Linked DNA regions of Homo sapiens: all the other regions are linked to region 1. The links are contacts of gene promoters, found by promoter capture Hi-C in blood cells and fetal thymus (Javierre and others, 2016). All regions are on one chromosome and are shown on one strand. The core of a region is centred on a gene start or on the middle of the fragment in contact, and the rest is flanking DNA. Distances in the headings are between cores, read along the strand shown.

Region 1 (2,583 bases), core at 84-2,583:
TACATTCAGCGGCTAGGCACAGGGTTCAGAAACGTCCTGCAGCCGGGCGTGGTGGCTCATGCCTGTCATCCCAGCACTTTGGGAGGCCGAGGCGGGCGGATCACTTGAGGTCAGGAGTTTGAGACCAGCCTGGTCAACATGGTGAAACTCCGTCTCTACTAACAATACAAAAATTAGCCGGGTGTGGTGGTGCATGCCTGTAATCTCAGCTACTTGGGGGGCTGAGGCAGGAGAATCGCTTGAACCCAGGAGGCCGAGGTTGCAGTGAGCCAAGATGGCGCCACTGCACCCCATCCTGGGCGACCAGAGCAAAACTCCGTCTCCAAAAAAAAAAAAAAAAAAAAGTCTTGCAAGTGCATATGCACACCAGGTAGAGCCGGGATGATCCTGGCGCACTAGCAGGAGCGGGAGGAGGAGCTCAACTTAGCAGAGCCTGTGGGGCCCTGCAACAATTAGTTGGAAAAGCTGAGGCATGGAGCAGGCACTTCCTGGCTTTTAAGATTGGGGCCTGGGAGATACTCACCGATGCACCCATGATGATGAATATGTGTGTATCCGACTGATGGAAGGCATCGCCCTGGAAAAGCTCTTCCCGCAGGATCCCGCACACCTGGGTCCGGCTCAGGGCCACCTGCTCTGCCATGACGCTGTCTGGTGGAAGAAAGGCTCGTTAACAAGGCAGAAGAACAGGAGAGCATTGAGAAGTTAGCCCCTTTCTTGAGAGTTCCTCTGGGGTCTCACACCAGGGTGACACCTGATTGCCCAAATCACTCCTTGTGAACGGCTGGGCATTGGGGAGTGGTTGATGGGTTAGAAACTGCTGGCTCTGGGCTCCAGCCACTCTCTCCTAGGCAGCCTTCATTCAGGGTGTACATTACAAAATTACTCAAAGCATTGGTGTATTCCGACTACAGCATCAATTCTGGACAACCGAGTAAAATCCTTGTGGGGCATGGAACTGCGTGCCCAGGACCATCTCATTCCCGACTGTAGCGGGAACTCCACAATGACCTGGAGCATGGGAGATGGTGCAGATGCTGGAGTTCAGCTCCAGCCCTCCCCTTGCCAAGCTGGGTGACCCCGGTCGGCAAGTCCCCTTCGCTCTCGGGGTCTCAGGGGCTCAAGAGAGGAGGTGCGGGGTATAAAGGGATTGGTTAAGACCCTCTCGATTCTGCTCGGTTCTCAAGCACAACAAACAGCGTGTATTTTACCGCCGCGCGGCGCAGCGCGGGACAGTACGCTCCTCCGCCTGCGCGGCGCCCGCCCGGCCGGTTACCTGCGCTTCGTCGTCGTCGCCCTCCGCGCTCGCAGCCCCGAAGTGTACGACCGTTTCCGGGGGCTGAGCCCCGCCGGCCCATTTAATCGGCGGGGGCGGGGGCGGGCGCCTGGGCTGAGCGGACCCGCCTCAGGCGAGGCGTGCGGGGCGGGGCCTCGGCCACCACCCCTCGTGCGGGCGGGGCGGGGCGAGGGCAGGTGCGCGCGCATCCCAGGCCAGCCCCTGCCTCTCGGGCACCTGCGCTGGAGGCCGGCCCGCCGGCTGCCTGCCATACCCGCTGCCGCTGCTCTGCATCCCCAATTCCGGCGGGCACGGGTGCAGCTCCGCGTAGTGCTCCCGCATCCCCATCGCCGGCCCGGCCCCGCCCCTACTGTCCGGTTTCCCCGCCTGCCCCGGCGGCCTCGCGCGCTCGCGGAGGGCTCCACTTCCGCCGGCAGCGTGGCCACGCCTCCTCTGGGCTGTCCCTCGGCTCCTGGGCGGGGCCTTCTGCCGCGCCACTCCCCCGGGAACCCTCGCCTGTTCGCGGGTCAAGCCGGCCCTATTGGGCAGTCTCTTCTTGATTCCTCCCCCGGAGAGGGCGGGGCGGCCGAGCGCCCCGAGGCTAGACGCCGCCGTCCGAGAGACGAGGGGGCGTGTAGGCGGTGACGCCCTGCAAAGTGGCCGGCGTGCTTATCATTACCGAGCTTCCGCGGGCCTGCAGAGCCTGGCGGACTCAGACTTCTCTCCGGAGCGGGATGCGGCCCTACCGCGGCCTCACACTTCTCGCCGGCTTCCCGAGTTCTCGGGGGCGGGGCTTGTGTTTTTACTTCCGGATCCCACAGCTATGACACCGGAAGCCGGAAGCGTGGTAGGGAAGGGCGACCGCGAAACTGGGACTTTCTCGGAGCGCCGGGGCCCTACCAGCGTTCACAGTCCGCCGCTCCCACCCTTCTCACGTCTGACGGACTCTGCTGACAGGTGTGGTCCTTTTCCCCAAAGACAGGGTTCCATCCGTGGGCGTTCCGCCGCCTCCGAAACTTCCCCCGGACGTTCAGGCTCCCCCCTCTTTTTTGGGCCCCAGCCCGTTCCTGCTCCGCGCTTCTGGAGCACTGGCCAAGGCGGGCCGATTCAGGACCCAGGTTACTTGGGCGGCGAGCTGGACTGTTTCTACTCCTCCCTCCTCCTCCACTGCGGGGTCTGACCCTACTCCTTGTGTGAGGACTCCTCTAGTTCAGAGACATATTCTGTTCACCAAACTTGACTGCGCTCTATCGAGGTCGTTAAATTCTTCGGAAATGCCTCACATATAGTTTGGCAGCTAGGTATCT
Region 2 (2,583 bases), core at 46-2,545, 490 kb before region 1:
TGTTGGGTAGTACAGATTCAGTGAATGAGCCCTCAGATCCTGCTGGATCCCGTGATCAGATAAACAGCAGCTTCTCAGGAACCACTGCATGTGAGGTTAGGGTGAGGGGAGGGACCCGATGGAGATCTAATCCCAGGGGTTTGGTCACAGGGGCTGGCGAATGAGAGGTGGAGACCGGGAACATACGCCACTTTTTTTTTTTTTTTTTTTTTTTTTGAGACGGGGTCTCACTGTGTCACCCAGGCTGGAGTGCAGTGGCACCATCTTGGCTCACTGCAACCTCCGCCCCCCAGGTTCAAGCGATTCTCCTGCCTCAGCCACCCAAGTAGCTGGGATTACAGGCGCCTGCCACTGCGCCTGGCTAGTTTTTCTATTTTTAGTAGAGACGGGGTTTCACCATCTCGGCCAGGCTGGTTTTGAACTCCTGACCTCGTGATCCACCCACCTCGGCCTCCCACAGTGCGGGGATTACAGGCGTGAGCCACTGCGCCCGGCCAGCCACTCTTTTTTTTTGAGATGGAGTTTCGCTCTTGTTGGCCGGGCTGGAATGCAATGGCACGATCTCGGCTCACTGCACCCTCCATCTCCCAGGTTCAAGTGATTCTCCTGGCTCAGCCTCCCAAGTAGCTGGGATTACAGGCATGCGCCACCACGCCCAGCTAATTTTGTATTTTTAGTAGGGACGGGATTTCTCCATGTTGGTCAGGCTGGTCTTGAACTCCTGACCTCAGGTGATCCACCTGCCTTGGCCTCCCAAAGTGCTGGGATTACAGGCATGAGCCACCAGGCCCAGCCTAAGCCACTCTTTTGGAAAGCTCAGCAGAGAAGATGCATGAGGTAATACGACGCGTTAGGTGGCCTTTAAAGGGATGTTTATAGCTTTTCATAACATGGGTGTATTAGTCTGCTCAAGCTATAACAAAATAGTACAGACTGGGGGGCCTATTCAACTGAAATTTCTCACAGTTCTGGAGGCTAGAAGTCCAAGATCAAGGTGTCAGCACATTCAGCCCCTGGTGAGGGCTCTCTTTCTGACTTGGAGATGGCTGCCTTCTCATTGCATACTCACATGGTGGAGAAAGCAAGCTCTCTGCTGTCTCTTGTTATAAGGACACTAATCTCATCATGCGAAACCCACCCTCCCTCCTGATTTCATCTAAACCTAACCACCTCTCAAATACCCCATCTCCAAATAACATCACATTGGAGGTTTGAGCTTCAACACTGGAATTTTGGGGGACACAAACATTCAGTCCATAACAGTGCTGATGTTTATGTTTTAATGTTAAATGATAACAGCACAGCACAGCAGCACACACACTGTGTGATGCCAATCTGTTTGTTTGTTTGTTTGTTTGTTTTTTTAGATAGGTTCTCACTCTGTTGCCTGGGCTATAGCAGTAGTGTGATCACACCTCACTGCAACCTCGACCTCCAGGTTCAAGCAATCCTCCCACCTCAGCCTCTCAAAGTGCTGGGATTCCAGGCATGAGCCACCATGCCTGGCCTCCAATTTGTATTTAATGCCACTGAACTGTACATTTAAAAATGGTAAATTTTAGGTGATGTGTATTTTACTACAATTTTTTTAAAAGTCTAAGAGAAGGCAAGAAAGGAGAAGGAAAATTTAAAAGAACAGAAAATATGGAAAAATAGAATGCACAAATATGCTATAAATGAATCTAAATACATCAGAAATCAAATAGATGTTAAAGGACGAAACAGACAATGGATTTTTTAAAAAATCTCGAGGCCGGGTGCGGTGGCTCACGCCTGTAATCCCAGCACTTTGGGAGGCTGAGGCGGGCGGATCACGAGGTCAGGAGATCGAGACCATCCTGGCTGACACGGTGAAACCCCGTCTCTACTAAAAATACAAAAAAAAAAAAAAAAAAAAAATCAGCCACGCGTGGTGGCGGGCACCTGTAGTCCCAGCTACTCTGGAGGCTGAAGCAGGAGAATGGCATGAACCCGGGGGGCGGAGCTTGCAGTGAGCCGAGATCGCGCCACCGCACTCCAGCCTGGGCGACAGAGCAAGACTCCGTCTCAAAAAAAAAAAAAAAAAAAAAATCTAGCTATCAGCTGGGCATGGTGGCTCACGTCTGTAATTCCAACACTTTGGGAGGCTGAGGCGGGTGATCAGCTGAGGTGAGGAGTTTGAGACCAGCCTGGCCAACATGGTGAAACCACATCTCTACTAAAAATACAAAATTAGCCGGGTGTGGTGGCACGTGCCTGTAGTCCCAGCTACTCAGGAGGCTGCGGCAGGAGAATTGTTTTGAACCTGGGAGGTGGAGGTTGCAGTGAGCCGAGATCACGCCATTGCACTCCAGCCTGGGCAACAAGAGCAAAACTCCGTCTCAAAAAAAAAAAATCTAGCTATCTGACATTTTCAAAAGCTCCACCTCACTGATGCATAAAGACACAGAAAGGAGGAAAATAAAAAACTGGGATGGCCGGGCGTGGTGGCTCACACCTGTAATCCCAACACTTTTAGAGGCCAAGGCTGGTGAACTGCTTGAGCCCAGGAGTTTGAGACCAGTCTGGGCAACATGGCAAAACCCTGTCTCTACTAAAAATACA
Region 3 (2,583 bases), core at 33-2,532, 450 kb before region 1:
TAGTTCTTAAAGTTTAAGATAATTAACTTAAGATTTCATGTCAAAAAGAAAAGAGCCAGAGGCTGGGTGCGGTGGCTCACGCCTGTAATCCCTGCACTTTGGGAGGCTGAAGCGGGTGGATCACGAGGTCAGGAGTTCAAGACCAGCGTGGCCAAGATGGTGAAACCCCGTCTCGACTAAAAAAAAAAAAAAAAAAAAAAAAAAATACAAAAATTAGCCAGGCGTGGTGGCAGGTGCCTGTAATCCCAGCTACTTGGGAGGCTGAGGCAGAGAACTGCTTGAGCCCGGGAGGCAGAGGTTGCAGTGAGCTGAGATCGTGCCACTGCACTCCAGCATGGGTGACAGAGTGAGACTGTCTCAAAAAAAAAAAAAAAAAAAGAAAGAAAGAAAAGAGAAAATGAGAGCAGTTTATGAAATCTAAAAAAGAAAGTTAATATATATATAAAACACCCCTAGCTCTTGGGCTAGGAAGACAAGTGCATCCTTACTAAGGCTTGGTCCTGTCAACTTCAGAGGCAATAATGAGAGCCCAGACTACAGTGTCTACAGTAACTGCAAAACAGCCACACAGCACAGCGGGAACACATTCACACGCCAGGAGACCCAGCATACATGTGCTTGAAGAAGTTATAAGACTCAGGCTTTATTCTCTAACGAAATGGTCATTCCCCCTTTGATGTGGGGGTGGGGGTGGGGATGCCCTGCCCACCCCCCAATTCCGGCTCCCACTCAGTTATCCCACATACCATACATACCATCAAAGTATTTAAGCAATGGCATGCAAAGCAAGCTTTCGACAGGTTTCTTGCAAGAGAAAGGCAGAAGAGAACAGGTAAAAGCAGAAGAGCACACAGGTAAAAGCAGAAGAGCACAACTTCTACTTAAGCCCAAAGAAGAGGGACCTGTTCACATCTTGTCCTACCCGGAATGATGCACACGCACAGGGGCTTGCCGGGACAGCAGTAGTTTCACTGGAAAGGGCTGGTATGGAGGCACCGAGGACAAGGTCCTTCCATCGCAGCGGTGATAATGCTCTACCCAAGAAAAAAAGATTGCGTCTGCCAGCCACGCAAGACTGGTCTGCAAGGATGTCACCATAGCAGAGGGCAGGGAAAACAAGCAGGTGTCCTGCCACACTCTTTGGGACTGGCCAGTCTAGGAGTGTGCTTTACCCCACGCACTGAAAACACTGGTTACTAGAAATATCAAACATTTCCTGTGATTCTCTCCTCCAAGATAACTCGGGCAGCTTGAGAACAAGCTGCTCTTAGCTAATTAAAAGATTTCTGCTGATATTAACCTTTATAAAAGATTTCAGGTTCCAGGACACGTCATTTATCATGCAGAGTCCCAAGCAGGTACATTAGCAATGGAAACCAGGCTCCAATAAGGAACTAACAATTTTATCTCTGTTGTTCTTTATTTTAGGTTAAAGAAATGAACTTCTCGTTTCATCTCCACATGGGAGGAATGTTCTGGAGGGGGTAACAGCCTATTAAACTCATCTAGCTTTTTTTTTTTTTTTTCAAACTCCACAGCTTGCCTCCCTACCCTACTAGACTAGATTGCACAGAGGCAGGGCAGGCACGGGAAACGACTCTGGTTGGAAATTACAAACATATACACACAGAATGCAAGCACCATAACCCTTTGAATACACAGTGGTTTGTGCCTTGCCCCAGACCTACCTAAGGATTTAAACAGCACAGAAGTCGGAGTTCGGCTGACTGCATGACACTCTCCTATCAATCGGGTGAAACAAAGACCCAGTACTCTAAGCTTAAAGCATTCCAGGCAAAATTTTAGTTAACAGGCAATAGGAAGGTGTGATAGGCCAGTGCTAACAAGAAAGCCACAGATGGGTTTCTTTGAGCTGTTAAGACACTGGAAAGGGCTGGTATGGAAGCCCAGTGGAGCCATTAGGACAATGGAAAAGGAGGTACCCCTCCACCAGGCACTTTGCAGAGAAAACTATACTCTGGAAGCTGCCTGCACTGTTGATAGGGCTAGACGTATGATAAACAGCTAACCGGAGGGGCACCCGAGGAGACAAACTGCCAACTATGAAGAACAAAGCAGAGACCTCAACTTGTCACGTCTCAAGCTCAGATGTACAAACTTTGGGATCGTCAAGTGAGGCTCGTGTGTATGCCTGGGGATATGACTGTATTCCAGTGATCAGCCACCTAGCTGACCTGCCACGAATGGGTGACCTGTGGTGACTTACTTTAATCAACTGTAGTACTTCTAGATTGATTGGGTGATTTAAGGTTCTGACATATTCAGGCAAGAAAATAAAAGCAAGTGTTTCCTAGACTTCCTCATTGGGATTTGAAATAGAAATCCTGAAAAGCCCATAAAAGCCTATTTCCCTAAATCCTTGGTGGAAATTCCCAAAAGATTAAAAAATCCAGACCCTGTCTTATTATAGGGACCCAGCAGATTTCAAAAGACTCAAGAGGTCAGCTTAATCTGGTTATTAACTGAAATTGCTGAGATACTGATGAACATTCCAGCCATGGAACCCAAAATTCTCTAGAGTAATAATTACCTATTAGTGCAATGTTACTACTGAGGCCGTAT
Region 4 (2,583 bases), core at 28-2,527, 420 kb before region 1:
GTGGCTTTTTTTCTGTACAGCTAGAACTAGAGTAAAGGGGAGGAGTTTCCCCCAAAGGATACTTTTGCCCATTTGCAAAGGAAATGAATGAATGAAGATGCTGAGGCTCTCCCAGCTGATGGAACCACTATTCTGATTGATTGGCTTCAAAGACTCACCAGAGAAAAACATTTTAAAATGTAGGGCCAAACCTCTGATACTATAAAAGTGCTGGCCTTTTAAGACAAACTCTCAAAGTTAGAGTTTCCCCACGGTGAGAATCTCTCCACACAGTTGGGGACTGGGCAGCTACCCCAGCTGGGCACTAGAGGCCTGGGCCACCCTCACACCCTGGTCAGTGGTAGCACGGGGGCTGCCAGACCTCATCAAAAGCTTGACTTTTCTTTGACTTCCAGGAGGAGGAACCCTGTGAGGCACTGCTCCACTCCCTGCATGGTTGAGGACAGGTGGGAGAGGGGAGGCTACAATCAGGCTTCAAGGTTATTAGGATGGGCCGGGCGCGGTGGCTCACGCCTGTTATCCCAGCACTTTGGGAGGCCAAGGTGCGCGGATCACTTGAGGTCGGGAGTTCGAGACCAGCCCGGCCAACATGGTGAAACTGCTTCTCTACTAAAAATACAAACATTAGCCGGGCGTGGTGGTGAGCACCTGTAATCCCAGCTACTCGGGAGGCTGAGGAGGCTGAGGCAAGACAATCGCTTGAACCTGGGAGGCGGAGCTTGCAGTGAGCTGAGATCATGCCACTGCACTCCAACCTGGGCAACAGAGAGAGACTCCGTCTCCAAAAAAAAAAAAAGAAAAAGAAAAAAGGAGAAACGGTTATTAGGATGGTCCTGGGATGGAGAGAACCAGGGACAGTAAGGGCCTGGCCAGGGTAGGGCAGCTGCTGCAGGAACAGCAACCCAGCAACTGGCCACACAGAGGGCGAGTGACCCCTGGGCGGACTGATGGGCCACACCACAGGCCACACCACGGACCACAGGCCACACCCAGAGAGCTAGTCCTGGGGCAGGGAGCGCCTCTGAGCAGGAAATGACAGAGGAAGTTTCTGGTGCAGCTTTACTGATAAGGAAACAAACAAAGACTGTGTGATAGCAATCAGAAAACATTTCAGTCAAGCAGAGTGGAAGGAAGACTGCTTTATCTTTCTGTTCCCTCTAGTGAGAATTATGTCACAATATCATTGTCAGATGAAGATGCGATCTAACACTATGCAGCCAAAATGTGGGGAAAAAAGATAACACAGGTAGCTTCAGTACAAAATATAATAGGAACAAAAACATTGTACTTTGCTGCCTTTTGTTGTATTTGTCAGCTTTTTAAAATTTGTAATTTGTTGTGATTTCTTATCTTTTTCTAAATGAATGGACACATTTGCAAGTGATTTAGTATTCTTAAAGAGGAACCCTAAATTATATAAATTTTGGTCTCTATACAATGTGGGTTTTCCTTCCTATATACATGGTAACCTGTTTAGAAATTTTAATTAAATTAAATAAGTTGAAGTTGTGGGGAACAAATCATCATGTTATCTCTTTTCTGTGCACAAAAGTCGTTTTTAAATACTGGAATGGGGCGGGGTGTGGTGCCTCATGCCTGTAACCCCAGCACTTTGGGAAGCTGAGGCAGGTGGATCATCTGAGGTTGGGAGTTTGAGACTAGCCTGGCCAACATGGCAAAACTGGGTCTCTACCAAAGATACAAAAATTATCCGGGCATGGTGGGGTGCACCTGTAGTCCCAGCTACTCAGGAGGCTGAGGCAAGAGAATCGCTTGAACCCGGGAGGCGGAGGTTGCAGTGAGCCGAGATTGCACCAGTGCACCCAAGCCTGGGCAACAGAGAAAGACTCTGTCTCAAAATAAATAAATAAATAAATAAATATTGCAATGGGAAAAGAGAAAAATAAATCATAGAATTTTGGGATATTACACTTTAACAAGTTAAATCAAAACATTTATAAATAGCCATATAAAACCAACCATATAAAACCAGGCTATTAGTAAAAATCTAAATGGTCGTCCTGCTTCCTAAATGTACTCTTTCTCTCAAAAAGTTTTTGGATGAGAGAACATGGAAAACTGGGGATTTTTCCTCCACTGTTACAATGTCCTGCTTGCTCAGTCACAGGATAAGAAACAAGGAAACGCATATTGCTATCAGGCCCAAATTGAACAGTCATGAAGAAGCTTCAGGAATCTCTACTGTGTTAAATACACTTACTAATATTGAAAGGGCTTTATCAACACAGAAGATAGAGAGAGAGGCAGAACAGCATGGCCAAATAGAAGCCTCCAGTGATCATCCCCACTGCGGGAACACCAAATTGAACAACTAGCCACACAAAAAAGCACTTTCCTAATATCCAAAAATCAGGTGAGCGATCACAGGACCTGGTTGAACTTCACATCACTGAAAGAGGCCGTGACAAGGGTAGGAAGGACAGTCTTGAATCACTCCCCGCCCCGCGCCCCAGCCTCAGCCCCGGCACCCCCCACCCCCAGCCCCCGCTCCGCAGCAGCCTCGTGGTGCAGAGAGAGAAGCTGTACACTTGGGGGAGGGAGGGCACGGTGACTGTGGGGCTT
Region 5 (2,583 bases), core at 42-2,541, 290 kb after region 1:
TAGAAATAAAGTTCTGTATTTGGAAAAATTTTTGAGAAACATTAAGGTCCCTGTTCTGAGATTATTTTACAAATGTTTACGCTGTATTTGGAGGCTTTGTACATCTTTTGTTAGACTTAATCCTTACTGCATTAAATCAGGGGGCATGCGATGCCAGATTGTCCCATTATTGATGATGCTAAGTTTGATCACTTGGTTAAGATGTCCACCTAATCTCTATATTTATAAAGGTAACCCTTTCCCTTTCCTAACAATCTGTGGAGTGAGACTTTGAGACCATGCAAATATTCTGTTTCACAACAAGCTTTTATCCAATGGTATTAGCAACCCTTAAAGTTCTTTACAAGTATTCAATAGTAAGTACATTGATGGTTGCAAACTGATTTTCCAGTTATGATCCATTACCCTCATTATTCCTTTTGATGCTCAAATTGTCTCAAATCTGGCCAACAGGAAGCCCTTCAGACCAGTTTCTGTGTTCTTTTCACATGATCCCATTAATCTTCTGGCACATCAAGATCACCAAGATCATCTAAGATTGCCTGGCAGTTTCCTTGATCCAGCCTTGAAAAAGTCATTTCTCTAGGGAGCTCAGATTCTTTTGACTGGAAAATGGTAGTTAGAGACCAAGATTTGGGCATGGGATGGGCTCGTTATTACTGCAGTGTAATTACTTCTAGATTCCCTCAGTGAACAGTGCTAAGAATATGATTTTTTAAATTCCTAAGTTCTCACTGACACTTCTAATTCAACTCTAACATTCTTTTTGTTAGTATTAGATTTCTAGGGCTACTGTAACAAATTCACCACACACTTGGTGCCTTTAAAACAAAAGAAATTTATTCACTTATCGTTCTAGAGGCTTAAAGTCTGGAGCCTGGAGCAGAGGCACAAAAGAGTGTGTCAAACACAAAATCACATTTAAAGCTTCTATTTGGAAGTGGTATATATGTCATGTCCAATCACATTCTATTGATCAAGATGAGCCGTACGGCCATGCCTAAAGTTGATGAGGTTTTCAAGGAAAGAGGGAATAAAAACTCAAGAACATTAATACCATCTGCTTCATATGCTATTTTCTGTTCATTTAGAAATTCCTTACATTTTCTTGTTTCAGCAATAAGAGGTGATTTATGCAGGCAGACATGAGGGCTGGGTGGCTTACTAGGTTTCTTAGCCAGGAGTACCCTCTACTGTTGATAAATGGAAGTGTAATTTATTTAATAGATGTGACCAAAGAGGTTTGTGGGTCTTGTGATTTAGTAATTCACTTTTGTTTTTATAGGACAGTTAATTTCCAACATTTGCTTTCTTCTTTTTTTTTTTTTTTTTTTTTTTGAGACAGGGTTTCTCTCTGGAGCAAGGTTGGCTAGATTTATATATTTATTTTCTACTTGTAAATATAAACTTATAGTACTTTTTGTCTTCTGGTTATTCTATAGATGGGTTATGGGTGGTTTTAGTCATAATTTAAAATTGTGTGTGTATGTGTATGTATGGTTTTTGAAGACTGTGGAGAGATTTAGGCAGCTGCCATTATCTGACAGGAATGTGCAACTCCTGCTTGGAATTTTTAAATGCTATTTAAAACTATTTTTCCAACTGTTTCAGGTATACAGAAATACAATTAATTTTGGTATTTATTTTGTTTTCAGCAAGCTTGAAAAATTTTAAAAATTCTAATAATTTATATATAAATTCCTTTGGATTTTCTATCTATGCCATCATATCTTCCACATACAATGAGTTTGTTTCATCATATTCAATCCTTACATATTTTCCTTCTTTTTCTCATCTTATTGCACTGCTTAGGACAGCCAATATGTATAATCCTTCAGTCTGTCACTGTGATAAATTATATCAGTTTTCTAATGTATAAGCCAAACTTGCATTCCTAGCATAAATCCAATTTGGATCCATATTGCTAATATTTTGTTTGGGATTTATGTTTATGAATAAAACGGGCCTATTATCTTCCTTTCTAATATTGTTCTTGTTCGGTTTGGTTGTCAAGGTTATGCTATTATCATAAGATAATTGAATAACATTCCATCTTTTTCCATTTTCTGAAAGAATTTTTGCAAGGTTAATATTATTTCTCCTTTGAAAAATTGGTAGAATATAGTTAGTGTAGCCATCTGGATCTGGATTTTTTAAATTAATAACCTTTTAACACTAAGTTTGGAAAATTAGGTAAAATGGATTAATCCCTGGTAAATACAACAAGAAAGAACATTTAATATTAATAAGTATCCTCATTTTTTATATTTTTATATTGGCAGAAATTTTTGTGGGATCTTTATTGATGTCCAGTTTTTTAAAGTTTCTGATATTATTTGTGCCTTCTTTTCATCTTGATTGCTCTTGCCAGAAGTTTGTCAATTTTCAAGGAACCAACTTTTGGTTTTCTTTATTCTCTCTATTGTATGTTTCTTTTTTACTTCATTTACTTCATATCTTTATTATTTCCTTGCTTCTACTTCCTTTTGGTTTATTTTGCTGTTTCACTAGCTTCTTGAGACATACCTTAGCTCATTAATTGTCAGGCTTTCTTCTCTTCCAATATATGTTTTTAACGCTATA

The links. Contacts are between HindIII fragments. The CHiCAGO score rates a contact against its expected background, and 5 or more counts as called.
Region 2: a fragment that was not itself captured here is called in contact with the fragment with the promoter of G6PD in region 1 in 6 of 17 cell types (total CD8 T cells, non-activated CD4 T cells, naive CD8 T cells and 3 more); the score reaches 9.2 in total CD8 T cells.
Region 3: a fragment that was not itself captured here is called in contact with the fragment with the promoter of G6PD in region 1 in 4 of 17 cell types (total B cells, activated CD4 T cells, total CD8 T cells and 1 more); the score reaches 8.2 in total B cells.
Region 4: a contact is called between a fragment that was not itself captured here and the fragment with the promoter of G6PD in region 1, in 3 of 17 cell types (total CD4 T cells, naive CD8 T cells and naive B cells). The highest score is 6.8, in total CD4 T cells.
Region 5: a contact is called between a fragment that was not itself captured here and the fragment with the promoter of G6PD in region 1, in 3 of 17 cell types (fetal thymus, total B cells and megakaryocytes). The highest score is 6.2, in fetal thymus.

What each region holds. Positions count from the first base shown.
Region 1 is chrX:154,545,513-154,548,095 of GRCh38, forward strand. It overlaps G6PD (glucose-6-phosphate dehydrogenase), which reads right to left and starts at 1,334. Exons shown (of 13, transcript NM_001360016.2): 1 at 1,277-1,334; 2 at 524-651. The coding sequence starts at 643. IKBKG (inhibitor of nuclear factor kappa B kinase regulatory subunit gamma) reads left to right here and starts at 2,108. Exons shown (of 10, transcript NM_001099857.5): 1 at 2,108-2,233. RefSeq lists enhancers at 370-913, 2,216-2,495 and a silencer at 1,216-1,775. The HindIII fragment of the contact is 7,888 bases long and covers 1-2,583 here.
Region 2 is chrX:154,052,264-154,054,846 of GRCh38, forward strand. The region is part of intron 1 of MECP2 (methyl-CpG binding protein 2); the gene reads right to left. Among named protein-coding and RNA genes, the nearest start is that of MIR718, 34 kb to the left of the region's middle. The HindIII fragment of the contact is 7,842 bases long and covers 1-2,583 here.
Region 3 is chrX:154,093,456-154,096,038 of GRCh38, forward strand. The region is part of intron 1 of MECP2 (methyl-CpG binding protein 2); the gene reads right to left. Among named protein-coding and RNA genes, the nearest start is that of MECP2, 3.0 kb to the right of the region's middle. The HindIII fragment of the contact is 989 bases long and covers 789-1,777 here.
Region 4 is chrX:154,122,977-154,125,559 of GRCh38, forward strand. No RefSeq gene overlaps it. Among named protein-coding and RNA genes, the nearest start is that of OPN1LW, 20 kb to the right of the region's middle. The HindIII fragment of the contact is 1,815 bases long and covers 371-2,185 here.
Region 5 is chrX:154,839,894-154,842,476 of GRCh38, forward strand. The region is part of intron 25 of F8 (coagulation factor VIII); the gene reads right to left. Among named protein-coding and RNA genes, the nearest start is that of SMIM9, 6.5 kb to the left of the region's middle. The HindIII fragment of the contact is 732 bases long and covers 926-1,657 here.